Regions from separate parts of the Homo sapiens genome. Here region 2 is linked to region 1. The links are contacts of gene promoters, found by promoter capture Hi-C in blood cells and fetal thymus (Javierre and others, 2016). All regions are on one chromosome and are shown on one strand. Each heading gives the region's core, a stretch centred on a gene start or on the middle of the fragment in contact. The rest is flanking DNA. Distances are from core to core; before and after follow the strand shown.

Evidence for each region. The method cuts DNA at HindIII sites, captures the fragments that hold promoters and counts their contacts. A CHiCAGO score of 5 or more calls a contact.
Region 2: a contact is called between a fragment that was not itself captured here and the fragment with the promoter of GTF3C6 in region 1, in 3 of 17 cell types (megakaryocytes, M2 macrophages and M1 macrophages). The highest score is 10.5, in megakaryocytes.

What each region holds. Positions count from the first base shown.
Region 1 is chr6:110,954,647-110,960,253 of GRCh38, reverse strand. It overlaps GTF3C6 (general transcription factor IIIC subunit 6), which reads right to left and starts at 1,548. Exons shown (of 6, transcript NM_138408.4): 1 at 1,428-1,548; 2 at 1,002-1,082. The coding sequence starts at 1,484. RefSeq lists an enhancer at 1,226-1,675. The HindIII fragment of the contact is 8,604 bases long and covers 1-3,206 here.
Region 2 is chr6:110,876,133-110,881,664 of GRCh38, reverse strand. The region is part of intron 1 of AMD1 (adenosylmethionine decarboxylase 1); the gene reads right to left. Among named protein-coding and RNA genes, the nearest start is that of AMD1, 4.1 kb to the right of the region's middle. RefSeq lists an enhancer at 5,028-5,532. The HindIII fragment of the contact is 1,622 bases long and covers 3,330-4,951 here.

The DNA.
Region 1 (5,607 bases), core at 299-2,798:
GTTACAACCTGAAGACTACTTAATTCATACTCAAGTAACAAGGTTTATTTCAATCAACATCCTGTTCAAGAGTAAGCTAAAAACAGAGGAAGTTTTGTCAACAGTAGTGCAAAGAGTCTATCTGTCATCTATTTATTTTTTGAGACAGTGTCTAGCTCTGTCACCCAGGCTGGAATGCAGTGGCATGATCATGTTCAGGCAATCCTCCCACCTCAGCCTCCTGAGCAGCAGGGACCACAGGCGCATGCCACCATCCCCAGCTAATTTATTATTATTATTATTTTTTTTTTTTATTGAGATGGAGTTTTGCCCTTTGTTGCCCAGGCTGGAGTACAGTGGCGCGATCTCGGCTCACTGCAACCTCTGCCTCCAGGGATCACGCGATTCTCCTGTCTCGGCCTCCCGAGTAGCTGGGATTACAGGCGCCCACCACCATGCCTGGCTAATTTTTGTATTTCAGTAGAGACGGGGTTACACCATGTTGGCCAGGCTGGTCTCGAACTCCTGGGCTCGTGATCTACCCGCCTCGGCCTCCCAGTATTGGGATTACAGGCGTGAGCCACCGCGCCTGGCCATTTTTTTTTATTATTATTTTAGAGAAGGGGTCTCGTTATGTTGCCTAGGATGGTCTCCAATTCCTGGGCTCAAGTGATCCTCCCACCTCTGCCTCCCAAAGTGCTGAGAATACAGGAATATATGTACGGTTCCATATCACAATGTTACTTCCTCCAAATCTGTAACTTTCTCTTCAGCCACACATTCAAACAGGCAAGCAAAGTTAGCCATTTTCTCCTATCTGCTCCCATAGTCCCCGCTGTACTTCTACATTATACTTAATTACATATTAATTAATTATACTTAGTATACTTCTTATCCTTAGAGTTCACTACTTTGTAAGGTGAAATAAATATATCAATACTTGCGGATAGGTATTTCACCATTGATTCTTGTTTTACATTTAAGACACTCTAGAACAATCCCCCCAAGTCTAGAAAACTCACCAAAACCTTGCATTTATTTTCACATTTTGAGAGGAAGTCTGAATCAATAATTCCTGATAATTCCACCAGAACCAACTGCTCCTGGTGAAAGAAAGAGGGGTTAACATGCTAGCACGCGAGCGGCCAAGAGGGAGCAATTAGCAAAAGAAGCCAAATTTCCCACATTTGTGAAAACCGGACCCTGTTTTCAGCAAGAGGAAACTACGCTACCTAAGGTAACTTCCCGGTACTTCCCATCCCAAGTACGGGGTGACGATTAGGGCTAAGGTCCCAAGCTGCCCGGCTCCTCGCGCCCAGGAGCAAGAAGCCGGTGAGGAGCAGTGGGGCCTCCCTCCGGCCCGCAGCTCCCCAACTCCCTTCCCCACACACAGCCAGCACAGGCATCACCGCCACTGCGGTGCAGGCTTTTGGCGTAGCGCTTACTACCTCCTCTTCCTCGTCTTCTCCGTCCTCTGGACTCCGCTCGTCCGCCGCCGCCGCCATGGTCCCGCGGCGCCTCGCCTTCTAGTCACTGGCCACGCCCGCCCGGAGCCGCCATCTTGAGTACGGGCTTCAGCTCCGAGGCGAAGCAGCTTATTGGGTTCCTGCCGCTCCGCTCCTCGCCGCGCAAATTGCTTCTGCCAGAACTCGAGATGTCGGCTTCCGGCGGGCGGGTGGCTACGGGCGCCGAGAGCGCCGGTACCCACGTGGAGACTCGCCACGGGCCTCCTCGTTTCTCGGTGCCTCAGAGCAGGGGCTGGGGGTGGGCTGCCGTAGGCAGCGGAGCCCGCTCGGTCACGCAAGAGTCGCCGGGCTCTCGGCCCCGCTGGCGGGGAGGACTGGCAAGGCAGAAGGGATAAAGGCGAAAACAAGGAAACCATGGTTTCAGGCGGATCATGGACAGAAAGGCCTTGTGTTTGACCCGAGCACATTTCTTGGAAAGAAATTCTTAATATTGTGTGAGCGCTCATCCTCAATTCAACGTACCCCAAGCCAAGTTAAAGGCACATTCAGTTTAATACTAATGAGCGCCTACACAGTAAAAAGCACTGCACCAGGAGCTATGAAAAATAGAAAGTGGGCTTAAGTTTCAGGCCTGCAGGAGCATAAGATCTGTGAGAGGTACATAAATGGATCCAAGCAAGTGCTGTAAGAGATACACATTGTTATAGGAACACAGAGACCTGGGCAAGAGAAGTTTGAACAGAATTTTCAGAAGTATCCCATAGATGTTTGTGATTGTGAAAGAAACGGTCTTCGTACTTGCGATAGCGTGATCTAGTGGTTAAGATCGTGAGTTTTGGATTTTTATTTATTTATTTATTTGGAGATGGAGTTTTGCTCTTGTTACCCAGGCTGGAGTGCAATGGTGCAATCTCGGCTCACTGCAGCCTCCACCTCCCGGGTTCAAGCGATTCTCCTGCCTCAGCCTCCCGAGTAGCTGGGATTATAGGCATGCGCCACCACGCCCGGCGAATTCTGTTATTTTTAGTAGAGACGGGGTTTCTCCATGTTGGTCAGGCTGGTCTCGAACTCCCGACCTCAGGCGATCCCCCTGCCTGGGCCTCCCAAAATGCTGGGATTACAGGTGTGAGCCACCGTCCCCAGCCTGAGCTTTGGATTTTAATACCAGTCAAGTTCTGCTGCATTATTAACAGCAAGGCTTTGGGCAGATTGGTGGTTGTGAGGATTAAATGAGACAATACATATAAAATAAATTTAGCCCAGTATTCAGCACATAGTAAGCATTTAAAGTGCATTTAATCTATTATTAGTAGTAATATATAAATTTTTTAGTATGATGCTCTTTCTCTCTTTCTTTTATTCATTGTTTGTTTCTTTCTTTCTCTCTTTCTTTCCTTTCTTTTTTGTGACAGGGTCTGGCTCTGTCGCCCAGCCTGGAGTGCAGTGGCGCCATCGTAGCTCCCTGTACCCTCAAACTCCTGGGCTCAAAGGGAGCCTCCTACCTCTGCTTCCTGAGTAACTGGGACTACAGGTGCACGCCACAGCGCCTGTCTTTACATAATGGTTGTATGAGTGTGCCATAACTTGATCCTCTATTTTTTAACACATAGGTTATTTACAATTTGTGGATATTGTAAATAACACTCTTTTGTGTATATTTTTGTCCAGTTGCCTAATTAAATGTATAGGATTTCATAGCTTAAAAAAGTAGAAGGAACACTGGACCTGTTAGAAGTACATTTCAATTCTAGCTCTGAAGCTTAATAATTGTGAAGTTTTCCAACCTCAGTTTTCTTATTTATTATATGAGGATGAAAATAATTATACTTAACACCGGGTGCGGTGTCTCAAGCCTGTAATCCCAGCACTTTAGGATGCTGAGGCGGGCGGATCACAAGGTCAGGAGATTGAGACCATTCTGGCTAACACGATGAAACCCTGTCCCTACTAAAAACACAAAAAAATTAGCTGGGCATGGTGGTGTGCACCTGTAGTCCCAGCTACTCCGGAGGCTGAGGCAGGAGAATGGCGTGAACCCGGGAGGCGGAGCTTGCAGTGAGCCAAGATTGTGCCACTGCACTCCAGCCTGGCCGACAGAGCAAGACTCCGTCTCAAAAAATAATAATAATACTTACTGTGTCTTTTTTGCTTGGAAAGCAAAAATTCAATCGTATATCTAAAAATACTTGGTAAACTGAAAAATTACATAAATTGTCAGATTTTGAGGGAGATGTGGGGAGAGTAAGGAGGAGTGGATAATCCAAGCTGAGGGAACAGCAGAAACAAAGGCTTGAGGAATGAAAATATGTGTGTTTTGAAAGGTTAGTGTGTTATAACTCAAGATGTCCCTTTAAAATAAACAAGCCTCATACTTCTAGCAAAAGTTATTGTTTGGTATTTATGAAGTAATTATTTTTATTTACTTTTAATGATTTACAAAAGAATACACAGTTAAAAGGGAGCTTTTTTTTTTCCTTTTTTTTTTTTTTTTTGAGACGGAGTCTGGCTCTGTCGCCCAGGCTGGAGTGCAGTGCCGTGATCTTGACCCACTGCAATCTCTGCCCCCTGGGTTTAAGCAATTCTTGTGTCTGAGCCTCCCTAGTAGCTGGGATTACAGGTGTACGATACCACACCGGGCTAATTTTTGTATTTTTAGTAGAGACAGGTTTCACCATGTTGGCTAGGCTGGCCTTGAACTCCTGACCTCAAGTGATCCACCTGCCTTGGCCTCCCAAAGTGTGAGCCACCGCGCCCAGCCAGAAAGTGAGCCTTCTACACCTGTCCCCCAACCATTTGTACCAGTTTCTTTTATATCCTTTCAAAGATATTCTGTGTGTTTACAAAAACACGTGTATATAAAATCTGTGAAATAATTTTTATTTTTAATTTTAATTTTTTTTTTGAGACAGTCTCATTCTGTCGCCCAGGCTGGAGTGCAGTGGCACCGTCTCAGCTCCCTGCAACCTCTGCCTCCTGGGTTCAAGCAGTTCTCTTGCCTCAGCCTCCCAAGTAGCTGGGACTACAGGCGCCTGCCACTATGCCCAGCTAATTTTTGTGTTTTTAGTAGAGACAGAGTTTCACCATATTGGCCAGGCTGGTCTTGAACTCCTGACCTCAGGTGATCCACCTGCCTCAGCCTCCCAAAGTGCTGGGATTACAGGTGTGAGCCACCATGCCCAGCCAATAATTTTAATATTATAATGTGGCTTGCAGACTGGAAAACCATTCCCTTGGAAGGAAGGAGGACATCATAGTAATGACTCCATGATCTAGAGCTTGTACCCTGTGAAAATAAGCTTAAAGTTTGAAACATCTCTCAGCTCAAAACAGGAGCTTATTAGGCACAATAAGCATCCATAAGCATCCATAGGCACCCGTCAGCATCAGCTTTGAAAGGAGACAAGCCTTTTGGTGACTGGGAGGAATTTCCACAATCTAACAGTGGGACTCCATTCTTAATACAGTCTACTCTCAATGACTTAGAATTCCTAAAAAGATTAAAAGGAGCGGGGTGCAGTGGCTCAGGCCTGTAATCCCAGAACTTTGGGAGGCTGAGGCGGGAGGACTGCTTAAGCCCAGGAGTTTGAGACCAGACTGGGCCATGTAGTGAGATCTCGTCTCTACAAAAAATTTTAAAAATTACCCAGGTATGGTGGCGCATGTGTTTAGTTTCAGGTTCTTGGGGGTGCTGAGGTGGGAGGCTCGCTTGAGCCCAGGATCTCGAAGCTGCAATGAGCTGCAATCATGCCACTTACTGTACTCCAGCCTGGGTGACAGAGTAAGACCCTGTCTCAAAAAAGAGAAAACATTGTGCCAAGTGAAAGAAGTCAAGACACAGAGGACCACATACTGAATGGTTCCATTTATATGAAATGTCCAGAATAGGCAAGCCTATAAAGAGAGATAGTAGGTTGGGCGTGGTGGCTCACACCTATAATCCCAGCTCTTTGGGAGTCCAAGGTAGGAGTATCCCTTGAGGCCAGGAGTTTGAGACCAGCCTGGGCAACATAGAGAGATCCCATCTCTATCTTTAAAGAGAGAGAGAGATTAGTGGTTGCCAGGGGCTTGGGAGGATGGTGGAATGAGGAGCGACTGCTACTGGATGAGGAGTTCCTTTTTTTTTTTTTTTTTTTAAGTAAAAGCAAGTTTATTAAGAAAGTAA
Region 2 (5,532 bases), core at 2,891-5,390, 81 kb after region 1:
TTTGTATTTTTAGTAGAGAAGGTGTTTCACCATGCTGGCCAGGCTGGTCTCGAACTCCTGACCTCAAGCAATCCACCCGCCTCGGCCTCCCAAAGTGCTGGGATTTGGGATTACAGGCATGCACCACCATGCCTGGCCCGAAGCACACAATTCTTAGGTGGTTATAAAACACAAAGAAATATGTAGATTGAGTATTTCCTGATTTGAATTCCTTTTTCTCATCTTAAATGCCACCTCTCTGATCTAACTCAGTGGTTCTCAACTTGTAGTAATTTTGCCACCCAGAAGACATGTGGCAACATTTGGAGACATTTTTTATCACAACTGGGGTGGTGGTGGTGTTGCCAGCATGCAGTGGATAGAGGCCAGGGACACTGCTACACACGGTATAATTAACAGGATAGTCATTGACAACAGTGAATTATCTGAATCAAAATGTCAAGAATGCTGAGGTTGAGATACCCTAATTTCACTTAAAGACTAGATACTAAAATATTAAATATAATCAGAGATCATGATAAATGATCCCAAAGAAAAATAGATGTTCTATATTAATAACAGCACACAAATTGTATGTCTGAAAAACAACACTTTAGTGGCATGCCACATTTTATATTTAAAACATTTTCTTAGAGGCTGAGGTCTAATAAAAATAGAATTTAGAAATGTCTACAGGGACAAGATAATTATATTATAACAAGACTTCTCTATGTCGCCTGATTAAATGCATTTTGGGAGCCCGAGGCAGGCGGATCACTTGAGGTCAGGAGTTCAAGACCAGCCTGACCAACATAGCGAAACCCGCCTCTAGTAAAAATACCAAAATTAGCCAGGTGTGGTGGCGCAGGCTTGTAGTCCCAGCTACTCGTGAGGCTGAGGCAGGAGAATCACTTGAACCCAGGAGGCGGAGGCTACAGTGCACCAAAAATCACACCACTGCACTTCAGCCTGGGAGACAGAGCAAGACAAGCGTGTCTCAAAAAAAGAAGTAAATGACTGAGCTCAACTATCTTGAACAAGAGTCCCAAGCCTACATAACAGGGAAAAACATCGCTTCCACAAATAGTGCTGGGAAAAAATGGATGTCCACATGCAAACAAAATTAAGTTGGACTTTTACCTTACATCATAAACAAAAATTAACTCAAAATGGATCAACAACCTAAACATTAACAGCGAATAAAACTCCTAGAAGAATACATAGGGTAAATGCTTCAGGGCATTACATTTGGCAATGATTTCTTGGATATGACATACAATAAAATCAAAAACAGACAAATGGAACTTGAAAACCTAAAATGTAAACATTTCTATACATCAAAAGAAACGAGTGAAAAGACAACCTACAGAATAAAATACTTGCAAGTCACCTCATAAGGGGTCAATATCCAAAGCAAAAGACACACCTACACACAACTCAACAAAAAGTGATTAAAAAATGGACAAAGGGACCAGGGGCGATGGCTCAATCACTTGAAGTCAGGAGTTCAAGACCAGCCTAGCCAACATGGCGAAACCCTGTCTTTTACTAAAAATACAAAAATTAGCCAGGCATCGTGGTGCATACCTGTAGTACCCACTATTAGGGAGGCTGAGGCAGGAGAATCATTTGAACCTGGGAGGCGGAGGTTGCAGTGAGCTGAGATGGCACCACTGCACTCGAACCTGGGTGACTGAGACTGTCCAAAAAAAAAAAAGACCAAGAACTTAAATACAGAAGGATCCCATTAGTGCAGGGTTATGCTCTAATCACCTGAAAACTCAATACATAGATGCTATTCCCATACCCAGTTAGGTCAGACACTTTCTGAGGATGATGCCTGCAAATTTTTATTTGAAAAGCTTCCAGGTCATTAGATTACTCATTACTTCCTAATGTAAAACCAGCTGGTTTCAGAGTTCAGGTAATTTATCCAAAGTCACTGCAGCTTCTCAATTCTGCTCTTACCTCATATTTTTAGGTCTGTTTTAGAGGCTCTCATTACAGTACATTCATCAGGGTGCCTCTACCCCAGGTAGTAAGCAGTCTTTAGGTAAAAGGCATCCTAAAACCAGATCATTCTTGAGTAAAGCTAGACTGACCAGAAGTTAGATTCTGAGGGTGCCTTCCTGCGGCAGTGAATTCAGATAACCTGAGAAATAAGCCTCCTCCCTTTTGTTCAAAGATATGAACCTATTATCATCACATTATTGTTTCTCTATCTCAAATTTTTACCCCAAATCGGGATACTCCTCTCAGTTTTCTGCTACTTTCAACATGTGCTTCTTAAAGATACATGGTTTGTAAACAACAGTTGAAATATTTTCGTTGTTGTTGAGAGGGTTTCACTCTGCCACCAGATGGAGCGCACTGGTGCAATCTCATTTCGCTGCAGCCTCGATCCCCCAATGGCTCAAAAAAATCCTCCCACCTCAGCTTCCCGAGTGGCTGGGATGCAGACACGCACCAGGATGGACCAGCACGCACAGATAATTTTTCAATTTTTTTTGTAGAGTCAGGATTTCACTATGTTGCCCAGACTGGGCTCTCAAACTCCTTGGTCTCTCAGAGTGCTGGGATTAGACATGAGCCACCAAGCCCAGCCATGAAACCTTTTTGAAACTGCTGGGAGGAATGTAACGAGAAGCTTTATTCTTTAGCAGGAAGCATTTCTACTCTGAAACATTACACTAAAAGGTTTTTTGGCAACGGGTTGTAAATTCCTTCAATGTAAATTATTGATATTGCAATAATGCTGCATAATGATGTAGTCAAATAAGTCATGAGTTTGGGGAAAGTTAAGCTGAGGTATGACTATCTTTACAACTGCCCCAATCCTTTACTAAAAATTATGTTTTAGTTTATAAAATCTGAGTAAAGCACAGTAATAGGATTTCCAGTCCTGAAAAATCATTCTTTTCTCAGCAAAATTTTCTATTTTCTAACAGATTTCCTTCTTACTACTCTCACCCTCCCTAAAGCTGCCATGTCTTATAAAAAGCTTTTGTTTGTTACAGCACTTTGATCCAACAACTAAACCATTTTTTAAATGGTCACTGATTTTTATTCAACATCCGTAAAATCTGAAAAATCAGAGAAAACTGCAGGTTACCCCTAAGAAACCGCCTCTCCCTTAATTGTCCTTTATTCATCTGGATATACCTGGACTGCTGCTTTTCTCCAACAGTATTGTTTAACCCAAGCTATATCATAAAAGATTTTTCTTTGTTAAATTTCTCAGTATTACATAATTTGTTCACTTAAGATAAAATATCTTAAATGGTCTACAAGAGGGAAGCAGTGTTTAGTAAAAAGGTGTACATTCAGAAAAGATTCCAAGCATTAAAGCTTGGACTGATGAGCCAAGTTTGTTTAAAGTGTATTCCCTCACACCACACACAAAATCAATTCCAGATGGATTGCAGATCTAAATATGAAAGGTAAATATCGTGTAGGAGAAAAAAATATTTCAGACTTTGGGATGAGAAAACCGAGGGAAGTATGTTGTTTCCCAGAAGAATGCGTGAAAAAAGTTGGATATTTTCTCCCTTGAATTATACAGAACACTCCAGTGAAATCATCTGGGCCTAGATGATTGACTGATTCAAGTTATTTAGGTGTTCTAGGACTGTTTTGGGTTCTCCATTTCTTCTTGCATTAGTTTTGGAAAGCTATTTTTCCAGGATTTTTTTCTCCCTCATATCCTTATCTTGTTATCCTTGTCTTTAGCATCAATACTAATGCTCTCTTTGGACATTTAAGCCTTTCATTCTCTTAATCGTTTTTATGTCCCTATGTTTATTATGCTTTATAAACAGATTTGTTTAATTCCATCTGTTCATCTTTTAACCTACTTTTAGTTTATTCACATCTTAATAGAGCCCAGGAGGTCAAGGCTGCAGTGAGCCATGATCCTGCCACTGCACTCCAGCCTGGGCTATAGAGGGATCCTGTCTTTAAAGTGTTAAAGATAACAGTTTACGTACTACATATAACATATTAACTTATTTATTCTTCACAACTTCCATGAGCTATGTACCATTATTGTCTCCATTTTACAGATGAGGAAACAGCTCACACAGCTATTAAATGCTGTTTGAATTCAAATCTTGTTATTCCAGAGGCTATGCACTTAATCACGTCATTTGAGTAAAACATGTCACGCTTTATTCTTCTAGATGACCGATTATCCTTCCCTGGGGTCTCTGGGGCTGGCCCCATGTCCCCACCGACCGGACTCCGTCCATGATACTCTCTTTGCTAGGCTGTTGATTTTAGGTGATTCAAGGAACACCTACTATTTCAGGCTTTTTTAAACATCCTGGTAAATAACCTAACCACTTGAGTGGTCACTGAAAAATGTTCCAACGAAGGTTATCACGGGACCTTAGTTAAATCAACATATTTTTCAGTTCTTGCTTAACTTGCTTTATCTACAACAGTTACAATGTGGCAGTGTACTACCAATAGTTGTTCAATGAATGTTACATGTCCACAAAATGGATGGCACTAAATCATCTACACAAGGGAATATTTTGTCCTTCAAAGTTTAACTTTGGCCATGATTTTAAAAGCCACACTGGAGCAGTAAAACAATTTGGGCTGATTAAAGTACAAAGTAAAAAGGGTTCTTAAACATTTAAAGAAAGCAGGCTGCTTTGTAAAAAGCCTCTTCCTCCTCTCTCCACTTTGACTCAGGAAGCTCTAAACAGCCAAACCGCCAAGAACTTGGGGAGAACAAAATCTTCTTCCCTTTATTAAGAACATGTACTTACTATTATTTAAGGGCTCAAACATTTAAAAAGCCAAAGTGACAACTTCTGTTATTCGTTTTCTAGGACTGTTCTTACCCAAGATTTTCTAGGTTCTTGCCAAGATTTTCTAGGTTAATTATCCTGATCACAATCGTTTTACCAAACGTCTATCACAAATACCATCTTTCTCATCTGTGAAATGAAGGAAATACTAAGCTTCTCCATGACCAAAGTCCGCTTCCTATAATCTCACGTGAGCCTGGCACGTAGTAAGCGCTATAGACATTTTAAGTGTCACACGAAGCTTGAAAAAAATGAGACGTGTGACATTTTAGCTATGACTAGTATTTTTTTCTACAATGGAATCGTTCAAGATACACTGCTAGAAACCGGGTTTCCCGTCGTGCCTTAAAGTCTCGGTAGCACGTGTCTGCCTGGATTCCCTTTTCCAGTTGCTTTTTGTCAAGGGACAGCTCCAAGAACAGCTAACACTCCTAAAACGCCCATTGGTCCACACCCTGGGGCCAGGCTCTGAGTGCGGCCCAGGAGCCCATTGGTCGCCGCCTCTCAATGAAGCTGGCCACGCCAGTTACTCCGCTGCACCGCCACCCTAGCCGCACTCGTGCGCAGAGGAGCCAGGGATCCGGTGGCAGGGCCTAGGAAGGCCATTGGTGGCCACCGGTGCGACCGCCGCCAGGAACAAGGCCTAAGCATCCACGGGATCTCTGGGCTTTTATATAAGCATGGATTTCCACAGCAATACCAACTAAAACGCCTCTTCGGCGCGGTCAGCCCAAGT